Linked DNA regions of Homo sapiens: region 1 is linked to region 2. The links are contacts of gene promoters, found by promoter capture Hi-C in human tissues and cell types (Jung and others, 2019). All regions are on one chromosome and are shown on one strand. Each heading gives the region's core, a stretch centred on a gene start or on the middle of the fragment in contact. The rest is flanking DNA. Distances are from core to core; before and after follow the strand shown.

Region 1 (4,928 bases), core at 1,331-3,830, 500 kb before region 2:
GAAACTGGGTGGTAGAGGTTGCTGTGAGCCGAGATTGTGCCACTGCACTCCAGCCTGGGCAACAAAGCGAGACTCTTTGTCTCAAACAATAAAAATAAAAATTGAGATAAAATTCACATGACATAAAATTCACCATTTTGGTCGGGTGCGGTGGCTGATGCCTGTAATCCCAGGACTTTGGGATGCTGAGGCGGGCGGATCACCTGAGGTCAGGAGTTTGAGACCACCCTGGCCAACATAGGGAAACCCCATCTCTACTAAAAATGCAAAAAATTAGCCAGGTGTGGTGGCAATACCTGTAATCTCAGCTACTCAGGAGGCTGAGGCAGGATAATTGCTTGAACCTGGGAGGCAGAGGTTGCAGTGAGCCAAGATTGCACCACTCCACTCCAGCCTGGGCAACAGAGTGAGACTCCATCTACCAAAAAAAAAAAAAAAAAAACCTCACCATTTTAACTAAAGTATACAATGCAGCTCTTTTTTATTACATTCACAATATTGTGTAACCATCGCCACAATCTAGTTACATAACATTTTCGTCATCCCAAAAAGAAACCCTGTACCCATTAAGCAGTCATTCTCCTTTTTCCCCCTCTCTGGACCCTGGCAACCACTAATCTGCTTTCTATCTCTATGGATTTGACTATTTTGGACATTTCATATAGGGTCAGCCTGGGTGACAGGGTCTCACTTTGTCACCCAGGCTGGAGTAGAGTGATGAAATCACAGCTCACTGCAGCCTCGAACTCCTGGGCTCAAGTGATCCTTCCACCTTAGCCTCCTGAGTAACTGAGACTACAGGCACACACCACCATGCCCGGCTAATTTTATTTATTATTATTATTATTTTGTATAGCTGGGGTGTCACTATGTTACCTAGGCTGGTCTTGAACTCCTGGGCTCCTGCGATCCTCCTGCCTTGGCCTCCCAACGTGCTGGGATTACAGGCATGAGCCACAGGGCCTGGCCTCATTCCTTTGCATTTGGATACCCAGCTGTCTTAGCACCATTTGTTGAAAAGACTATGCTTCCCCCATTTAATGGTCTTAGCACACTTGTTGAAAATCAATTGACTATAGATGTATAGGTTTATTTTTGTACTCTTGACTCTATTCAATTGATCGATAAACTTCTTTATTGTAGCTTTGCAGTAAGTTTTGAAATCAGGACATGCGAATCTTTCAACTTTATTTTTCTTTTTGAATATTGTTTTGACTATTCAGGGTCTCTTGCGATTCCATATGAGGTGTGGGATAAACTTGTCCATTTCTGCAAAAAATGCAGCTCAGATTTTGAAAGACTTGTATTGAATCTGTTGAGCAATTTGGAGAGTGTTGCTGTCTTAACAATTAAGTCTTCTAATCCATGGACATGGAATGTGTTTCCATTTATTTATGTCTTCCTTGATTTCTTTCAACAAGGTTTGGTACTTTTCAGAGGACAAGCCTTTCCTTTCCGTGGTTAAATTTATTGCTAAATGTTTTATTATTTTTGATGCTATTGTAAATGGAAATGATTCTTAATATCATTTTCATATTGCTCGTTGCTAATGTACAGAAATACAACTGATTTTTGTGTGTTGATATTGTTGAACTTTGCTGAACTCATTTTAGTTCTAATAGCTTTCTGTGTATTCTTTAGGTTTTTCTCTATATGAGATCATGTCATCTACAAATAGAAATAGTTTTACCTCTGCTTTTCCAATCTGGATGCCTTTTATTTATTTTTCTTGCTTAATTGCCCTGGCAAGAACTTTCAGTACAATGTTGATTGGAAGTGATGAGAGTAGGCATCCTTATCTTATTCCTGATCTTAGGGGGAAAGCTTTCGGCCTTTGTCTTCACCATTAAGTGTGATGTTAGCTGTGGGTTTTGCACAGATGCCTTTTACCAGGTTGAGAAGTTCTCTCCTCTTCCTAGTTGGCTGAGTGTTTCAGGTTTTGTTTTTTTGTTTGTTTGTTTTTTGTTTAATCAGGAGAGAATGTTGGATGAACTCTTTTTTACAACTAAAAATCAGCGAAGTCCTCTGTATTTAATTTGGTATAATTATGTGAGACCAAGTTTCATAATTAAGGTTTTATTTCATAATTTTTTTGATTTTTTGGGACAGAGTTTCACTCTTGTTGCCCAGACTGGAGTGTGATGGTGTGATCTCGGCTCACCGCAACCTCCGCCTCCCAGGTTCAAGCAATTCTCCTGCCTCAGCCTCCCGAGTAGCTGGGATTACAGGCATGCACCACCACGCCTGGCTAATTTTGTATTTTTAGTAGAGATGGGGTTTCTCCATGTTGAGGCTGGTCTCAAACTCCTGTCGTCAGGTGATCCGCCCATCTCGGCCTCCCAAAGTGCTGGGATTACAGGCGTGAGCCACCGTGCCCGGCCTCATTTCATAATTAATGTTTTCAAAGAAGGTTACAAATATATGGCTGGGTATCTTTAACCATGTGACTTTAGTCAATTCCTACTTCTTTGGGCCTCAGTTTCCTCAACTGTAAAATGGAGGTGGATAGTAATGCTTACTTCATGGGGCTTAGAGGGATGATGGAGATAAGATGGGATTTTTGTGTGCAAAGGCACTTTGCAAATAAAAACTATTCTTCTGTTGCTGCTCTTATTAGAGATACTTTGTGTGTGTATTTTTGTTGTTGTTGTTCGTTTCTTTTTTGAGACAGGGTCTCCCTCTGTTGCCCAGGCTGGAGTGCATTGGCGTCATCATAGCTCACTGTAGCTTTGAACTCCTGGGCCCAAGCAATTTTTCCACCTCAGCTTCCCAAGTAGCCCAGACTACAGGCTTGCACCACCATGCCTGGCTAATTTTTAAATTTTTTTCTAGAGAAGAGATCTCACTATGTTGCCCAGGATGGTGTTGAACTGTGGCCTCAAGCAATCCTCCCACCTTGGTTTCCCAAAGTGCTGAGATTACAGGCATGAGCTGCCATGCCCAGCTAGAGATGTTATTTATTTATTTATTTATTTATTTACTTATTTACTTATTTTTGAGATGGAGTCTTGCTATGTCGCCCCGGCTGGAGTGCAGTGGCATGATCTCGGCTCACTGCAACCTCCACTTCCTGGGTTCAAGTGATTCTCCTGCCTCAGCCTCCTGAGTGGCTGGGATTACAGGTGTGCACCACCATGCTTGGCTCATTTTCGCATTTTTTAAGTAGACTTGGGGTTTCACCATGTTGGCCAGGCTGGTCTCGAACTCCTGAGCTCAAGTGATCCATCCACCTCGGCCTCTCAAAGTGCTAGGATTACAGGCATGAGCCACCATGCCCAGCCTGGAGATGTTGTTTTAAATTGTAATATAACATGTTTAATAAAGTACATAAGATACATAAAGGGCAATCGTCTTAAGTATAAAAACTGATTAATTTGTATACAGCCATGTGAACACCTCTGGATCCTGCTATTGAACCTGTTAGCACCTTGTAAGGGTCCTCTTCCTGGTCTGTACCTCCCTGGAGGTAACCATTATTCTGATTCCTAACACCATGGATTAGTTTTGCCTGTTTTTGAGCTTCGTATATATGGAGTCATACAAGCTTTTGTATCTGGTTTCTTTCACTCAGCATAATATCTGTGAGTCATCCAAATTCTTGCATGTATCAGTGGCTCATTCTTTTTCACACAGTTTTGAATAAGTTAATACGAGTTGGTCAAAGTTTGAAAAGGCTGTGCATTTGTCTGAGAGACCAGAAAAATACAGGCCAGCAAAGCCCAGGGCTCTCCAGTATTGAGCCAGTCCACTCTGTGAATCTCTATTTATGGCAGCTGAATTCTCAGCCAGGATGGCAGCTACTTTGCCCATGTGTCACCACTTCCCATCCCATACCCTGGGTAGACATCACAAATCCATCTTGAGCACTTTTTTTTCTTTTTTTGAGACAGTGTCTCACTCTGTCACTCAGGCTGGAGGGCAGTTGCATGTTCACAGCTCACTGCAGCCTCAACCTCCTGGGCTCAAGTGATCCTCCTGCCTCAGCCTCTCGAATAACTGGGACCATAGGTGTGTGCCACCATGCCCAGGTAATTTTTAATTATTTCTTGAGACTGAGTGTCCCTATGTCGCCCAGGCTGGTCTCAAACTCCTGGGTTCAAGCAATCTTCCCATCTTGGCCTCCCAAAGTGCTGAGATTACAGGTGTGAGTCGCCATGCCGGGCCAATCTTGGCACTTTTTTTTACAAGAACTTCTGATGCAGCCTCAAAATTCTTTTCAACCCAGCGGTCCAGGTGGCCAACACTAATTGCTTGTAGTTGGTACTTGATATAGTTTGGCTGTGTCCCCACTCAAATCTCATCTTGAATTATATCTCCCATAATTCCCATTGTTGTGGGAGGGACCTGGTACGAGATAATTAAATCATGGCAGCGGTTTCTCCCATACTGTTCTTGTGGTAGTGAATAAGTGTCATGAGATCTGGTGGTTTTATAAGGAGAAACCCCTTTCTCTTGGCTCTCATTCTCTCTTTGCCCGTTGCTATCCATGTAAGACGGGACTTACTCTTCCTTGACTTCTGCCATGATTGTGAGGCTTCCCCTGCCATATGGAACTATAAGTCCAATTAAACCTCTTTCTTTTTGTAGATTGCCCAGTCTTGGGTATGCCTTTATCAGAAGCATGAAAACAGACTAATACAGTACTCAAGATTAAATCTGAGGCTTCTGCTGTCATATCCCCAAGATATTTTTCTGGGCTCCCAGAGTTAGAACATGAGGGGCTCTGTTATCACCCTCAGTTTACCACACAGCTGTATGAAACTGATGGTGGTGAGGTCCACAGCATCTTCCTGTTCATATATCCTTTGGGTAATGGCTCCAACCCAGCAAGTGTTTTGCTACCTATGTACCTGGGAGCAACTTGACTTAGATAAGAGGTGATGAGGCAGACTGCTTAGATGTGGAGGGGCTGCTGCACCCATGAGGTG
Region 2 (4,970 bases), core at 2,260-4,759:
AATATATAAGCAATCCAACTGCATCTCACCACCTTCATCTAAACTGTCACTTCTCAGGCTGGGCGCGGTGGCTCACAGCCTGTAATCCCAGCACTTTGGGAGGCCAAGGTGGGCGGATCACCCGAGGTCAGAAGTTCGAGAGCAGCCTGGCCAACATGGTGAAATCCCATCTCTACTAAAAATACAAAAATTAGTTGGGCGTGGTGGTGGGCACTTATAATCCCACCTACTCAGGAGGCTGAGGCAGGAGAATTGCTTGAACCTGGGAGGCGGAGGTGGCAGTGAGCTAAAATAGCACCACTGCACTCCAACCTGGGTGAGAGGGAGACTCTGTCTCCAAAAAAAACAATAAAGAAATAAATACACTGCCACTTCTCAGTTGGACACTGCCACACTCTCTTCACTGGTCCCATGCTCTAACATGCCATTCTCCCCACAGCAGCCAGAAGAGGGAGGCTCTTAAAAATTTAAGTTACATCACCTCCATCATTCTACTAAAGTAAACAAAACTAAACAAGCAAACCCTCCAATGGCTTCCCTCAATCTTCGGGCCCTATCTGCATGACTGCCTGCCCCTCCTCCATCTCTCCACTTTCCCCACTCACTAGCTGTTCAACACACAGGCTTCCTGACTGACTTCAGGCAAGCTCCACTCATTTCCACCTCAGGGCTTTAACCCAAGCAGTTCTCGGCCTGGAAGGCTCCTCTCAAGCACCTAATACAGTACCTGGCACACAGTAGGTGCTGAAAAAAACCTGGAAACAGGAAAGAACCTAGTATATCCCTGCTAGAGGAACCAAGAGTGCACCAGGGTGACTCAAATAGAGGCATAAGATGAGTTGGGACTTCAGTCCCAGTGAAGTGGGGAACCTACAGTTTTCAGGGGCCAGCATTCAGAGACCAGATTTGTCTTTTGAAAAGACCCCATTGGCTGCTGTGTGGATCTGCGGAGCAAGAGATCCAGGGAGACCTGCAAGGAGAGAGACCAGACTGGGGTGGTGACCGTGGAGACAGACAAGTGGCAGATCTGCTCACATAAAATGGAGACAATACTACTTTATCTGTATGCATGTCTGTGCCACCCCTGTCTCTGGGTCACCTTTGTGTCTCCAGCATGACCTGGCTCAGAGAAGGGGTCAGCAACTGTTTACCGACCATATCTGTCCTCAGAACTGAATGAAAGATCCATGAGAGGGGCTGGCACGTGACAAGGGTGGCAAAGAAAAACAACACAAATCTGAACCTAGTCTGAGTCCCAGCATTTACTAATGACCCAGAGAGGACCCAGAGAGGAGTTTGCTGCAGGTTCCATAGCCAATTAACCGCAGAACCAGAACTGGCAGCCAGGCAGGGCTAGAGCAGAGGCCCCTCTCAAGGCCCCTCCTGGGAGGGGCCCGGCTGTATGGGACAATGGGTTATGCCCTGTGCTGCTAAGCTCCACCCCTCCACCACCACATGTCCCTCCAGCTAAAAATAACTCCTTCAGTGCCCTCGAGGACACTGTGCCAGCCCCACAGTTTTCCCTGGGACCCTCAACTCCAAAGGCACAGGAGAGGCTAGATGCTGCAATCTCTGGAGCTAAGGACTTGCAAAAGTCACAGGAACACCTGTCCCCAGGACAAGCCAAGAGGAACAGCAAGAGCCCCTGTAAACATCAGTTTCTTCATCTGTAAAGTGTGGATAATCATCCCTAGCTTGCTATGCGCCTTAAGTAAAGATAATGCCATATGATCAAGATCTGGCATACAGCAGGGCCTCCTTCCTCCAGCCCCACCCAGCTAAGCTCCCCATCCCCAAATCCAGCTTTATCTCCACCCACACAACCCAATGGCCCCAATCCTGACCCACTAATCTCTCCACAGTATGACAAGCCCCCATTCCAGCTCTACTATTGATGTGACCTTCACATAACCTTTCTGGGTTCAGTTTCAGCATCCACACAATGGAGACAGTCTACTCTGGTAGCAACTTGATGAACTACTTCAACAGAATCTTTGCAAGTCACCTCCCAAGGGCCTCAGTTTCATGCTCTATATAACGGGATTACGTCCACCTCTATGAAGATTATTGTGTAAACACACGTAAATCACCAGATATACAGCAAGTGTTTCCATAAATGTGGATGGCATTCTCCAGACTTAATAGTGTCTTTTTTTGTTTGTTTTTTTTTTTTGAGACAGGGTCTTGCTCTGTTGCCCAGGTTGGAGCGTGGTGGTGCAATCTCGGCTCACTGCAACCTCCGTCTCCCCGGCTCAAACAGTCCTCCTGCCTCAGCCTCCCGAGTAGCTGGGAATGAAGGCGCCCGCCACCACGCCCAGCTAGTTTTTGTATTTTTGGTAGAGATAGCGTTTCACCACGTTGGCCAGGCTGGTCTCGAACTCTTGACCTCAAGTGATTCGCCCACCTCGGCCTCTCAAAGTGCTGGGACTACAGGGGTGAGCCACCACACCCGGTCCAATAGTGTCAAAGTTACTTGAAAAGCTACCAGCCAAACTGAACTGGTTTTTGCTGAAAATTCACTAGGATTGTTCCGCGTGTATTCGCTTGCACACAGTGGTGAAAGGGTGCGCTCAGAGATCTAGATGGCCTGCGTTCCAATCTTGCTCCATCACCACCAGCTGTAAGACTGAGGGCAAGTTACCTCTGCCTCAGGATTCTCATCATAAAATGAGAACAGTTTCCCTATAGAGCCATGAGACTAGAATAAAGCTAGAAGGCAGTGCCGATCCCACAGGAAACACTAAGTAAACGTTAACTATCCCTGTATTACACTTCAATCGGTGGGACAGCAGGATTTTTCAAACCACTCCAAATTTTCTTCGAGATTTCTGCAAGGCTGCCCCTGCTGGAGGGGTGGGGGACCCCACAGGTTGGGTAACTGGCCCAAAGTCCCAGGGGAGAGGAGGATCGGAGCCGGCCTGGGGCTCGCTTTCCAGGCCTCTCCTCATACACCCTCCGGGGTGCCCTCGCCGTCCCTGTAGGAGGCCCAGAGAGGGGTGGACGCTCGTCGGGGCCGCCCAGCTGGACAGGGTCCGGTCCAGGCCTAGGAGGCCGGGCGCAGGCCCCCCGAGCAGGGTCCGGCAGGTGCCAGCCGTCCCAGGCCGTGGCCAGGTGTGCTCTCCCGCGGAGCACGCCGCCAGTTTGCGGCTCGCAGACCGCGCGGCGGCCCCGGCGTCGCGGGGCATGCTGGGACTTGTAGTCCACGGCCACCCGGAACGGCCCGCTCATGGCCGCGCGAGAACTCCAACTTCCAGCTGGCTTCGCGCGGCCAGAAACGCGCCGAGGCTGCGATTCCAGGGGGTCCAGAGAGCCCCGAGTCGGCCCTGCAGCCCCCGCCACGAACAAGCCCCGGGCGGGTGCCGGGCGGCCGCAACCGGCTGCAGGTCCTGGGACTCACCGACTTTGTAGGGCAGTTTGTCAGACATGCTGGCGGCACTCGTGATGGAAACGGGCGAAGGGGGCTGGGCCTCAGTCTGGGAACAGGAACTGGGCGGGCAGCGCCGAGCAGGGATATGCGCGTGGCGCCGACGCCTTTAAATATCTTCCTCGCACTTGCATATTCATGACCCGCTGGGGCGGGGCCCAACGCGCAGGGCGGAGCCGGAGGGGATTTCGATCCCTGAAAAGAAGCCTCAGAATTTCACAAGGCGTGGCCCCAGGAGTCTCACTCACCGGTCCGGAAGGGAGCGCCGGGAGAGGCCTGAGAGCCAGCCGGGCCGTCCTCTCGCTGGTTCAGCCAGTTGATTCAGTGTCAAAACCCAGCGGAACTGAAATTCCGCCAGTTCACTTCCCTGTGCCTCAATTTCCTCATCTGTAAAATGGGCCAAATGACATCTGCCACACAGATTATTATAAGTAAAGTTGCAGGCCAGGCGCGGTGGCTCACACCTGTAATCCCAGCACTTTGGGAGGCCAAGGCGGGAGGATCGCTTGAGCCCAGGAGTTCAAGACCATCCTGGGCAACACAGTGAGACCTGAACTCTACAAAAAAAAATTAAAAATTAGCCGGGCGTGGTGGCGCGCGCTTGTGGTCCCAGCTACTTGGGACGCGGAGGCGGGAGGGAGGATCTTTTGAGCCTGGAGATCGAGGCTGCAGTGAGCTATCATCCCACCACAGCACTTGAGCCTGGGCGAAAGGGCAAGACCCTATCTCAAAAAAACCAAAACAAAGTTAAGTTGCCATTTGTCAGGTACCTACTGACATCCCAAACATTCGCCTTACTCCAAGTAACCAACACCCTGAATTTAAGTAAGTTTGCATACATTTCTTATACTTTTACTGCATCCGTATATCATTAAATAGTTCTGTGTTTAGCACCTTTATATATCAACCGTATTTACCCTTCTGCAACTTGCTTTTTTCTGTGAGCATTATATTTATGAGACTCATGCATATAGCTTGAGTATATTCATTTTTGCTGCTGTATAATTCAGTCATCCCAGGCATGGGAAGGGGAAATTGGTTTCAGGACCTCTGTGGACTCCAAAACCCTTCTATGTTCAAGTCCCTCATATAAAATGAGGCAGTATTGGCATATAACCTATGCACATTCCTCCGTACACTTTAATCATCTCTAGATTACTTATAACTAATATAATGTAAATGCTATGCAAATGGTTGTTTTGTAATTTGTATTATTTTTATAGTTATGTTTTTTTAATTGCTTTTTTTCCCCTGAATTTTTTTTTTTTTTTATGGAGTCTCACTCTGTCGCCCACACTGGAGTGCAGTGGCACCATCTAGGCTCGCTGCAACCTCCACCTCCCGGGTTCAAGCAATTCTCCTGCCTCAGCCTCCCGAGTGGCTTGGATTACAGGCACGCACCACCACACCTGGCTAATTTTGTTTTTTCTTTTTTTGAGATAGAGTTTGGCGCTTGTTGCCCAGGCTGGAGTGCAATGGCATGATCTTGGCTCACACCAACCTCTGCCTCCCGGATTCAAGCGATTCTCTTGCCTCAGCCTCCCGA

Evidence for each region. The method cuts DNA at HindIII sites, captures the fragments that hold promoters and counts their contacts. A contact is called where the count stands out against the background at its distance.
Region 1: a contact is called between a fragment that was not itself captured here and the fragment with the promoter of AHCY in region 2, in 1 of the 25 tissues and cell types used here (dorsolateral prefrontal cortex).

The regions. Positions count from the first base shown.
Region 1 is chr20:33,800,449-33,805,376 of GRCh38, forward strand. All of the region lies in intron 1 of ZNF341-AS1 (ZNF341 antisense RNA 1), which reads right to left. Among named protein-coding and RNA genes, the nearest start is that of ZNF341-AS1, 8.2 kb to the right of the region's middle. The HindIII fragment of the contact is 4,512 bases long and covers 325-4,836 here.
Region 2 is chr20:34,299,846-34,304,815 of GRCh38, forward strand. AHCY (adenosylhomocysteinase) reads right to left here and starts at 3,510. Exons shown (of 10, transcript NM_000687.4): 1 at 3,398-3,510. The coding sequence starts at 3,425. RefSeq lists a silencer at 2,885-3,114 and enhancers at 3,685-3,734, 3,755-3,874. The HindIII fragment of the contact is 38,207 bases long and covers 1-4,970 here.